Linked DNA regions of Homo sapiens: region 1 is linked to region 2. Evidence: promoter capture Hi-C in 16 types of primary human blood cells and fetal thymus (Javierre and others, 2016). All regions are on one chromosome and are shown on one strand. Each heading gives the region's core, a stretch centred on a gene start or on the middle of the fragment in contact. The rest is flanking DNA. Distances are from core to core; before and after follow the strand shown.

Region 1 (5,862 bases), core at 3,029-5,528, 600 kb after region 2:
AATATGTAGTGTGGTTCTGGTGCTGTGGTCCCTTCTCAGCAGGTGTGCCCCAGAGCAGTCCTACCTGGGTGTCAGGGAGTTGTTCGGCATATAGGCAAAGTCCAGAAGTGGGAAGAAGTCCTTGGGGCCAATCATGCCGAAGCCCTTGGTAAGGTTGGGATGCATCCTGTGGGGATGAAGAAACAGGCTCGCTGGACACCACCACCCATGCCAGCTGTTTTGGCCATGACCCCAGCTAAGCCAACATCTAGGAAAAAGGGTATAAACTCTACCCCATCTGCCAGCCCTTAATAGCTCCCTCTTCTTCCTTCCTCACCATCACATTCTAAGGTGGTGGGAGAAGCTGGTCCTGATTTTCCTCATATCCATGGAGACCAAGATCATAGCCTCCCATTTTGCTATAACAGCCACTTGGGACACCCTGAGCCTTCCCCTTGCTGCCCTCCCATTACTCACAGGAGCAGCCGATCCAGGTATGTGATGGCAAAGGGAGACAGAGACTTGATGCCCAGCACAGGCAGCATGATCCCCAGCCACACTGCAGGGGTAAAAGTCACGAGGGAGGCCTCAGGCTTGCACCTACTGGGGGCATCAAAGAGGAGTTTTCCAGCTCCGAGACCCTCCCTCTTTCTTCCCTATTTCCCTGTTACCTTTCAGTCCCTCGGTGAGGTTGGCAAAACCTGCTTGACCCAGGGCCCACATGATGGTGAGACACTTTGCTGGTCGGCTCTGGTGGGACCTCAGCAGTTCCAGGAACTGAGGAGACCGGTGGGGAAGGCAGATTGGGATAGGACAAAACACCAGGAGCACCCCCCAAAGCCAGGAGGGAAGGGAGATGTCAACTGGAAGAGGGAGGACAGGCCGAGCAAGAGTGGAGCACTATGGCCACGTGGTGCAGGTTCTGTTTGTGGGCTTCGCCCATACTCTGCCATTTACTGGATGACTGAGCCTAGGAAAGTTACTGAACTCCTCTGTGGCTCAATCTTTTCATCTATAAAAATGGGAAATAATAGCAGTACCTTGCTCCTATGTTTCCAGAGCACACACACAGGATAGGTGCTAATAGTGTTACCCATTATTACTAGGCTTACAGGTCTTCCACTATCCCAAACCTGAGTCCAACAACATAGATTCTGCCCAGCCTCCCCAGTCCTAGCTTCCTAGCATCCCCACCATCACTGAGAGCTCACCTTGCCTAGGTTTGCCGTGGCAATCTTGGGCTTGTCTTGCAGGATGGCCTGGATACAGATGCGGTAACCATGTAGTGACTCCCCTGGAGAGATACACATTCTCACACCTACTCACATTATTTGGCATCCCAAACCTGAAATCTCCCATTTGTCAGCGGTGAGCCCAGGCCCCAGGTCCACTGACTCCTAACTTCCTCCACACTTTCCAAAAAGTGTTAAGGTTAGCACATTTCTCTGCTGGAAACAGAACCACTGAGTGGTACTGGAAGCAGGAAAAAAAGGAGGAGGCTCCCAAGATGGTCATCCCTCCCGTGCCCCTTTCACCTGGTGTCTTATCCAGCTCTTGCAACATGGTGAACAGACAGTGGTCAAAAAAGAGCTCCAGAGACCCTGCTGCCTTCGCCAGCAGCCCTCGGATGATCCCACGTAGCTCCCGGCTCACCAGGCTGTAGGGATAATCTAAGGCCCATAGGCCTCAATGTGAGTGCTAGGACCAGACACCCATCAGCTCTGAGAACTGTGGTGCTCTCCCTGGGAATGGTGAGTGGAGGCAAAGGCCCCTGCACTGAGGCTGGGATCCTTCCTCTGAGGAGGCCCAGAGGGAGGATCACAGAATGAGGCCCAGAAACATTCACAGTCACGATGATTTGAGACCAGCCCAAATCACCCATGGAAATCAGGACAGTGTGGGGCACTGGGATCTGTTATACCACCCTTTTTGAATTTATTTGAACTTGTCTGAGCTTGAGGAAGCTGGAAGGACTTACCATGAGTATGCTGGCTCAGCGTGGGTTCACTTAGAGGAGCTTGTAGCTTGTAGTTGAGATAGCTGGCCAGGTCCTTCAACCATATGGATGGGTTTCCAGAGAACACACTCTGGCTCTTGTCCAGTTCCTTCTGCAGGTCTGCCACATCCAGCTGCCAGGGACAATCCCCCAACCCCCCACCATGGCGAGTTGTGAGTGAGGGAGTAAAGAAATGGGGTAGGGGTGGGAAAATGGTTGAACTAGGTGGCAGTAGGAAGAAGGGATTCCATTTTTAAGCATAAGAACATGGAATGCTGCAATTCTGCTGTACCTACATCTTTAAGAATGGAACAGGACAGCTGAAAATGCTGATCTCAGGCCCTATCCTCTCAGGCCCTCCACATGTTCAAGAGGAAAACAGAGGGCCAGGCGCGGTGGCTCACGCCTGTAATCCCAGCACTTTGGGAGGCCAAGGTGGGCGGATCACCTGAGGTCAGGAGTTCAAGACCAGCCTGGCCAACGTAGTGAAACCCCATCTCTACTAAAAATACAAAAATTAGCCAGGCGTGGTGGCAGACGCCTGTAATCCCAGCTGCTTGGGAGGCTGAGGCAGGAGACAGAGGTTGCAGTGAGCTGAGATCACACCACTGCACACCAGCCTGGGCGACAGAGGGAGACTCTAACTCAAAAAAAAAAAAAAAAAAAGAGGAAAACAGAGGACAAGACAGAAAATGAAAGATCAGTATTTCCATAGGACAGAGAATCATAACCAGTTTCTCCATCTCCTCCCTGGTGTTCCTGGGTCTTCAAGGCTTTCCTCTTACCAATCCATGTTTCCCTATAAATTTTCCATTTCCTTTCTATTCTAAGTGCAGGCATTCTGTTCCCCTGGGGTTTCCATCTTTTCCTGAACTCCTCTCAACCCTTAAAGTGTTTCAAATCCCATAGGATCTCAGCTGCCCATCCACCTCCCCCTCCTCTCATCTTCTCTAAATCTCAAGCCCCCATTCTTTCTGCGTCTCATGTCTAGGCACACTCACAGCTTTCAGTGCTTCCTCCAGGCTGCGGAAGCGGCCCTGCTTCTGGTTTTGGTTGGGAGGAGTTGCCACCTTCTTTGGCTGCTTCTTGTTCCCTGGTTTCTTAGGTTCCACAGCAGGGGGTGGGACCTGCTCCTTATTCTGCCGCTTCATGATATTCTCAAAGCCCCGCTCATAAAGGGTGCTTGTGGTCTGGATTGCAGCTGGGGTGAAGATAGGTAGAGAAAGGCAGGCCACCCTTGAGTCCCCAAGGCCTCACCTATCAGTGGTCCCTTTCCCCACACTGCCACCTAATTCATCTCCAGGGAAGAGCCTGTCTCAAAGCCCCTTCCTCTTGGACTGCTTAAGGAGCAGGGCAGGCTGTTCTCCTGGTAGCTTCTTTCATTACAGCTCTTGAGTCTATGGGCTCTTTCATAAAGATGGGGCAGTTCTTCATTAGACAAATCAGAGTATGTAGGAACAAGCAGAGAGGTTGGATATAGAGGTTTGCCTTATTCAGTGAGTGGCTACTAGTCTGGGAAGACAAGCTTTTTCCATCTTGGTCCTACCCTAACGCCTCTTGGTTCCGACATGACAACTCTATAATCAACAAGTGGCAATCTTTCTCCACTCCTCAGTGGAAGAACCAGGTGTCACTTATAATTCCTGGTGAGTGTTGAGTGTGTGGCGGTCATTTCTCCCACTGCTGGGCCTCCTGTCCCTTCCTCCATGACCTGCTGGTTACTTAAAGAGGGGGCACCGTGTATAATGATCCACAGTACCTCTTCAAAGCTCAGACACCTGCCCAGAGAGACCAGCTAGGGCCCTGGGCAGCTGGGAGAGTGTGTGCAGTGAACTGAGAGTCTGAGGACCGGAATCCTAGCCCCTCTGACACATGACCCTGGCCAAGGTATCCAACTTCACTGGGCCTCAGTTTACTCATCTGGGAGGTGAGGACCGCAACCTTCCCTGGAGCTGTCTGCCTCCCGTGAGGCTCCAAAGAGACAACGCAAGCGTGGCGCTCGGGGATGTGCCTGCGAGCTCGCGCCCAGGTTCTGGGAGCCGCTCGCTGCGACCCTGCCGGACAGGCCTGGGGTAGGCGGCGGGGCAGGGCGGGTACTCACGGGTCAGGTCGTATTTCCACACTCCGTTTGCTTCCCCGAGCGCCCTGCGGTTCCTGCCGCCTCCTCGGCCGCCGGCGCCGGCGCCGACCCCAGGCCGCCGACCCTTCTTCACTACCTCCCACCGCCCCACGCCCGCCGTCTTGGTCGCCATGGCTCGCAGCCCTCCCTCCTCGGCCACTTCCCCGGCTTTCCGGTCCGGCGCGAGCGCGCCGCACTCTGCCACGTCTCCTCGCAGGACCGCGCGCCCGGCGCCCGGCGCCCGCCGCAAGGCAGCCTGGGACTTGTAGTCCCTCTCCTGGGCCGGGCTCTCCTGAGCGAAGAGCATCGGGAAGAGGCTTCCGCGGCAGCCTGCGGCCCCCGCCCAGGCGAAGAGGCCGGGAGGAGAGGAGATTCCCTTCTGAGAACGTTCATTGAGCGTCGATGTGAAGGCCACGGCATTGAGAGACTTGGTAGAACTGTTTCTGTTTTTCTTTCCTTTATTGATCAATTGATTGATTGATTGCCAGGGCCGCGCTCTGTCGCCCAGACTGGAGTGCAGTAGCGCGATCTCAGCTCACTGTAACTTCCGCCACCCAGGTTCAAGCGACTCTCGTGCCTCAGCGTCCCGAGTAGCAGGGACTACAGGCTCCCGCTGCCAAGCCCAGCTAATTTTTGTATTTTTAGTAGAGACGGGGTTTCGCCATGTTGGCTAGGCTGGTCTCGAACTCCTGACCTAAAGTGACCCACCCCACCCCCACCCCTCAGCCTCCCAAAGTGCTGGGATTACAGGCGTGAGCCACGGCGCCCGGCCACTGTTTTTCTTTCCTTTCTCGTAGAGCTGGAAGGATGGAAGGGAAGTAGTGCTCCTCATATCTAGGGAGAGATTGAAGATTAAATGCTTCCTTCCTTCTAGGAAAGTGCTGGCTTTACTGTTGCTAGTGATTAAACCTCGGGTTTAATGGGCTATACAAATCTATTGCCAAAGAACAAGGAAGAGGATGGGGGCTTGAGGAAAGGGCAGAGTGTTGGGGAGCTGGGGTAGGAGGTGGAGAATGGAGAATAATTTTTTTTTTTTTTTTTGAGACAGGATCTTGCTTTGTCGCCCAGGCTGGAGTTCAGTGGCGCGATCACGACTCACTGCAGCCTCAACTTCTAGGGCTCAGGTGATCCCCCACCACGGATCACCTGACCCACCACCACCCCCGGCTAATCTTTGGTATTTTTTGTAGAGACTGGGTTTTGCTGTGTTGCCCAGGCTGATCTCAAACTCCTGGGCTCAGTGATCCACCCTCTTCAGCCTCCCAAAGTGCTGGGATTACAGGAGTGAGCCACCGCTCCTGGCCTCTGAGTTCTTCTCATGGGAGGCTGAGAAAAGTCTGGGGGTCTGGGACAGCCAGGGCCGGGTTTCCCCTTCCAGGCAATGAGAAAGAACAGGCTCTGCCTCCCACCATAAGAGTCAATCCCAAGTTCCAGATGTGTCAGGGAAGCGATGGAGAGCCCCAGACTTGAGGCATCTGCAGACAGGTTCCTGCTCAGACATCCACGTGGAGGGTGTTAGTATCCTGGGAGCCTTCAGAACCTTGAAGCATGCCAGCAGAGGAGAATGAGGGAAGATAAAATCAAAGTGACTTATCACAATTAAGGAAATGTGCTATTTCATGTACAACTGTGTGTGAGGATGAGATTCCTACCTGCCATACTGAGGTATTATGATAAGAACTAAGAGAGTCCAAATTCCTACAGGATGAACAGCTGAGGGAGCGATGCATTCCTTAGGAAGGAGTTTAGCTTCCCGAAGGAGACGGCA
Region 2 (5,893 bases), core at 1,026-3,525:
TGCTCTTTAATTACAACAGCCTGCCATCTGGGGAGATGGTAAGAAAACTAAAATCTCAAGCTGAAATAGTATTTCTGATCACCTACCTCTCCCACAATCAGCTTCCATCCTTTTGCTTGTATATTTCACAAGGAAAAGGCAAAAACACTCTTTCAAGCCACAAAATACACAGACAAGAAGCCAGGAATGAGTCAAGACCAAAGTAGATGGAAAAGGATACTGTTTCATTACTTCTTTATACTTTACAGTATCACGAATATCTGAGGAGAAAAAAAAGAATTAACTGGAATGTAATACATACACATTCCCTACCACCAGGAAAGTAAAACTGGCCTTCTAGCCTTCTCCTGTCAGCATTCTCTTCTACCACCTCCACTTTCACACTGGTTTCCTTCCTTACAAAGAATAAATGCCAAGTAAATCATGAAGAATGTTAGGGCTAGGAGCTCTAAAGTTGTGGCAAAGAGTTTTGTCTCCACAAAGTGCAAAGTTTCATGCAACTTAAACATGCCTAGAAAAAGGGAGGCAAAAATCAAGGGGGAAAAAATGCTTCTTACTAATTGCCTATTACTGACAAAGGCAACACAATGGCAATGCAGACATGATTTTTTAAAAGGAGTTAGGCTGGGCACAGTGGCTCACACCTATAATCCCAGCACTTTGGGAGGCCAAGGCAGGAGGATTACTTGAGCCCAGGAGTTCAAGACCAGCCTGGGCAACATAGAGAGGCCTTGTCTCTCCAAACAAAACAAAACTAGCCCAGCATAGCGGCAGGAGGCTGAGGTGGGAGGATCACTTGAGCCTGGGATGTTGAGGCTGCAGTGACCTGTGAATCACGCCACTGCACTCTGGCCTGGGTGACAGAGACTCTGTCTAAAAAAAAAAAAAAAAAAAAAAAAACCTAAGCTGTTTAGGAATGCAAGCAAATCCAAAGGAAATGAAAGTAGATAGTTTAGAAAACATGAAAAAAGAAGGCACTGAAGACTGGCAGGCTGGAGGCTTTACAGAGTCTCACTCTATTGACCAGGCTGGAGTGCAGTGGCACGATCTTGGCTCACTGCAACCTCTGCCACCCGGGTTCAAGCAACTCTCCTGCCTCAGCCTCCCGAGTAGCTGGAATTACAGGTGCCTGCCACCGTGCCTGGCTAATTTTTTGTATTTTTAGTAGAGATGGAGTTTCACCATCTTGGCCAGGCTGGTCTTGAACTCCTGACCTCGTGATCTACCTGCCTCGGCCTCCCAAAGTGCTGAGATTACAGCCGTGAGCCACCACGCCTGGCCTTTTCCATTCTCTTTAAAGCACTGCACACAAGTTATGTTACTGGTTTACTCACCAATATTGGCAGGAAAGGGAACTTCATGTACTGCTGGATCCAGGTTGATCACATACGGTGGAGTGCCTTGGGCATGCAGGTGTCCTGTGAGCCTCTGCAGAGATATGGGGAGAGGGTTGGAAGGAGACAAAGAGGGGACAAGAGAGAACTTCCATTCCTTTAACACCCATGCCTTAAGAATATTGCACTTAGATTTTCTTCTACCTGAAATATCCACCATGTCCACCTCCAAGATACAACTCTCAGTTCAAATGCTACCTTTCTTCATCACCCATCTAACAAAGCTTCCCCTACTCGTAGTCACTTGTTTACTTGTTTTGATTCTTCGTATGTGGGTTTTCTCTATCTCCTCCATTAAATATTTGGCCCCACGAATGAATCTTGTCAACCTCATTTTCGCTATATCCCCAGTGAATGGAACATGACAGGCGTGCAAGAAATATTTGGCAAATCTTCACCAAAACCTGTGTGCTAGCACTGTATTAATCTTTAAAGTTACTTGTAACTTGCCTCCGAGAAACGCAATTTTATCAGCAAGACAATTCCTGTACAACGTGGTAAGCTGGACCGAGTATGCCCTGAAGGTGCGCAGAAGAGAGCCTTAATTAACCTGGCTAGGGCCCGAGGAGGCTTTGCCGGGGAAGGAACTAAAGTTGATGGGAAGCCCCCGAAAGCCATGCGCCGGTACCCTCCAAATCCTCTTCCCTCCCTTTCTTCCTGGCCTTCCGCCTGCCGGAGGCAACCTTTTGCGCTCCCCTACTACACCCATGCTGTGTACGTCACCTGTACAAAAGTGGTTTTCCCGGATCCCGCCATTCCCAACACCAACAGACACACTGGGTGCCGCGGACCCCCAGAAGCCTGGAGCTCAGCGGCAGCTGCGGACGCCGCCATCTTCCTCCTGGCCCCACCCACCCGACCATAGAGACACCGCATGGGTAGAGAAACTTCCGCAATGTTCTGGGCTGCGAACGAAAACCACCACAGCGTCAGAAAGGAGCGGGTGAGGGGCGCGGCGGTTGCCAGGGCATCTTCTTAGCGTCGGGCAGGGCTGATGAGTCAACTAGTGACAGTGGCGAGGAAGTGGGGGCGCTGAGCAAGCGAGAGGAAGGCTGAAGGGAGCTAGGAAAAGGGCGCTGATCTCTGCAGCCTGGGAGGGCTTTTGTCTCCCGGAGGAAGGCCAGAAGAGATGGGGTCCCGAGGGCAGGGCTCACACAGCAAGAAAACGAGGAGCATGCCTGTCATTTTGAGCCCACAGAGAACGGGGAGCGGAGCCACTGGAGGACCGGCTGCTCGGGCTTATTCGGTAGCCGAGGCGGTTAAACAGTTCAGGGCTGGACCAGCCGGGACTGGAGCAGGGTGCAGTCTCCAGGGTTGCTGGGCAGCACCGAGACCCTTTGAGCACCGAACGAATAAACTACGGGAGCTTTCCACACTTGCACATTGTTCCCGCGAGTTGCAGACGCAGGTTCCTGATGCTAGCGCTCATTCCTTGGCAGTCACCCTCAGTGAACTACACAGTTGCCGTGACCTTCAGGATGAATGCTTGGATTCCAGGTGCAAGTAGGTACTGGAGGGGAGCTTCCTCCCCTCCAGTCACTGAAGGTCCCTCAGAAACTCAGGAAAGATGATGAAAGAGCCTAGAAAATTATTTCTACTCCTGACCACCCAGTCTGTTTCTGTGACCCTTTGTAGCTGCAAACAGTGTTCAGTAAGTCATAAGATCTGGCTTTAATACCCAGGCTCTGCCACTTGCTAGTGGTGTGAGTCATGGGCAAGTCACTTAAACTCTCTGAACCTGTTTTCTCCTTTTTTAAAACTGAGGTAATACCTCCCAGGGTTGTAGTGAATGCACGTTGTAAATGACGAGCTACATTCCTCATCCTTTACCACTAGCTGGATTCCCCACACCTTGCATAATGTCTGGAACATTCTGGTGCTCAGAAATATTCTCTTGTATGAATGAAGGACAGTTGTGCACTTACTTCCTAAAGTTTCATTAACTGACAGAGGAATGTCTCGTTTGTTCTTTCAGGTTTGCTGAGGGCCCCAGAAGGCTCCTTCCACCGTATCATAGTCTAATAAATAATTTTGTCAAGCCAGAGAAGCTAACAAAGGTAGAGACAAGGCTTAAAGAAAAGATAGTGGCGGAAATGACGGATCTGAACAAGCATATAAAACAAGCTCAAACCCAGCGGAAACAGCTACTGGAGGAATCCAGGGAGCTACACCGAGAAAAGTTACTTGTCCAGGCTGAAAACAGATTCTTTCTGGAATACCTGACTAACAAAACTGAAGAGTACACAGAGCAACCTGAGAAGGTATGGAACAGCTATTTACAAAAAAGTGGAGAGATTGAACGAAGAAGACAAGAATCAGCCTCCAGATATGCAGAACAAATTTCAGTGCTTAAAACAGCGCTCTTGCAAAAGGAAAATATCCAATCCAGTTTGAAGCGGAAGTTGCAGGCAATGAGGGACATTGCTATATTAAAGGAAAAGCAGGAGAAAGAAATACAGACATTACAGGAGGAGACAAAGAAAGTCCAAGCTGAGACAGCTTCAAAGACACGGGAAGTACAGGCCCAGCTCCTCCAGGAGAAAAGATTACTGGAGAAACAACTGAGCGAGCCAGACAGGAGGCTACTGGGAAAGAGAAAAAGAAGAGAGCTTAATATGAAGGCCCAGGCCTTGAAGTTGGCAGCAAAGCGGTTTATTTTTGAATACTCCTGTGGCATCAACAGAGAGAACCAGCAGTTCAAGAAGGAATTACTGCAGCTAATTGAGCAAGCCCAGAAACTAACGGCTACTCAAAGCCACTTAGAAAACAGGAAGCAGCAGCTGCAGCAGGAACAGTGGTATCTGGAGTCCTTAATCCAGGCGAGGCAGAGACTGCAAGGAAGTCATAATCAGTGCCTAAATAGACAGGATGTTCCAAAGACCACACCCAGTCTTCCCCAAGGCACCAAATCAAGGATTAATCCAAAGTAACTTCTAAAATAACACTGATTAAATAAGAACTGGAGCAAGTACTCTTAAGTGCTACATTAACCTGGTTAGAAAGGCTGTTGGATTCCAGATTGCTATTGTAAAATCTCCATCATGATGTGTTGGAGTGAAGGATTAGATGGTTTTATCCAACAGTCCTACTAGATATTTGGTAACCAGCTTCCCTTAACTAGCTTTTTCTTTAAATACTCGTTAATAAGCTATTCCACAAACCTCCAGTTAACCTAACACATGACCCTAACCTAGCCATTTACCATACATCAAACTAGCTAAAGGAAACCAACCTAAGGAAGTGAAAACAGTTGTGATTTATTTCATCTAGCTAAATTGTATTTCTTTATAGAGAAAGTACCTTTAAGGATAGCATTCCAAATAGACTTTGAATAGCGTTCTGCCAGTTTATCCTCATTCCTTTTGACCAACTTAGCAGACAAAAGCAGTTTTTACAAGCTCTTTGTGAGTTTGTGCCAGTGACCAGGTAGCTCCTTCTAGTTTTCTCATGAGTGAAAAAGCATTCTGATAACAGCAAGTCCAGTAAGTGCTAGGCAGAGTGACCTTTCATCTGATGCTAAGCCCCTACAAGTTTGAGAAGGTAAGAAAAGATGAAGGAGACATATATTAGGTCAGCTCTTACTTTTGAAAATGTTTTATTTGAAGAAACACCTGTAGCATTGAGGTGACTGAATGCCTCCACTTATTTCAGGAAAACGTATCCAAAAAAAGTTGAAATATTTGGACAACTTTTTTTTTAAGTGCCATCGATTTCCCTAGCAGCATTCTAAAAGATAGCAAGTAAAATGATGTTTGTTATCCTAAATGCTTTAGTTTTAGGTCATTTATTAATTTTCTTACAGGTGCACTTTCTAGTACATGAAGTATCCTTTGTAATTAATGTGTGCCATATGTTTATTCCCATTTAGTATAACTATAAATTATATTTTAAATTATATATTTTTAGGATAGTTATATTTTTTTTGGGTTCTACGACATTGAAGTTGGACTAGTGATTTATTTGAATGCTGAATCCTAGTATAGGGGAATATAATCTTATATTTTAACAGGGGTCCTCTATGGGAAAATAGGATGAACTTTGTTTCCCAGAAATTGTTAAGTGATGAAAAACTTCAAAATAATTTTCCTGCATTTTCTGCTTTATTTACATGTAAAGTGAATTCCCTGAAAATTGGATTTAAAAAGCATTCTCCTTCAATGTGCCTTTACCTTGTAGCTTTAACAACTTTTCTGTTAAATATGTAGTTTTTTATTAAACAATGTTATTAAATAAAAACATTTATCCACTGATTTTATTACTGTTCCAATGTAACACATTTTCTACTTCATCACTCTTCTGTTACCACTCTTAAATGTCTTATTCACATGTGCAAATAATAAAAACTAGTTTTAATGCAGAAATTAGGATTTTAGCATACAGGTACTTTAACCTAAATCTCAATTTGTGAGCTGAAAATACAGAAACACTGAACAAGGAAAGCATGGTATCCAAGACAAACTTGAAGGCTTAGTCTCTGTGGACGTAAAAACCCTAAGACA

What was found. Contacts are between HindIII fragments. The CHiCAGO score rates a contact against its expected background, and 5 or more counts as called.
Region 1: a contact is called between the fragment with the promoter of TMEM214 here and the fragment with the promoter of CCDC121 in region 2, in 8 of 17 cell types (non-activated CD4 T cells, total B cells, naive B cells and 5 more). The highest score is 11.0, in non-activated CD4 T cells.

Annotation. Positions count from the first base shown.
Region 1 is chr2:27,031,381-27,037,242 of GRCh38, reverse strand. It overlaps TMEM214 (transmembrane protein 214), which reads right to left and starts at 4,278. Exons shown (of 17, transcript NM_017727.5): 1 at 4,077-4,278; 2 at 2,977-3,176; 3 at 1,958-2,108; 4 at 1,515-1,649; 5 at 1,191-1,273; 6 at 651-756; 7 at 457-538; 8 at 65-166. The coding sequence starts at 4,227. RefSeq lists an enhancer at 4,366-4,655. The HindIII fragment of the contact is 3,121 bases long and covers 3,503-5,862 here.
Region 2 is chr2:27,625,394-27,631,286 of GRCh38, reverse strand. CCDC121 (coiled-coil domain containing 121) reads left to right here and starts at 2,275. Exons shown (of 2, transcript NM_024584.5): 1 at 2,275-2,337; 2 at 3,370-5,649. The coding sequence starts at 3,488. The coding sequence ends at 4,324. GPN1 (GPN-loop GTPase 1) reads right to left here and starts at 2,237. Exons shown (of 14, transcript NM_007266.4): 1 at 2,118-2,237; 2 at 1,335-1,428; 3 at 221-260. The coding sequence starts at 2,228. RefSeq lists enhancers at 1,993-2,092, 2,133-2,442, 2,503-2,562 and a silencer at 3,011-3,305. The HindIII fragment of the contact is 4,758 bases long and covers 1,621-5,893 here.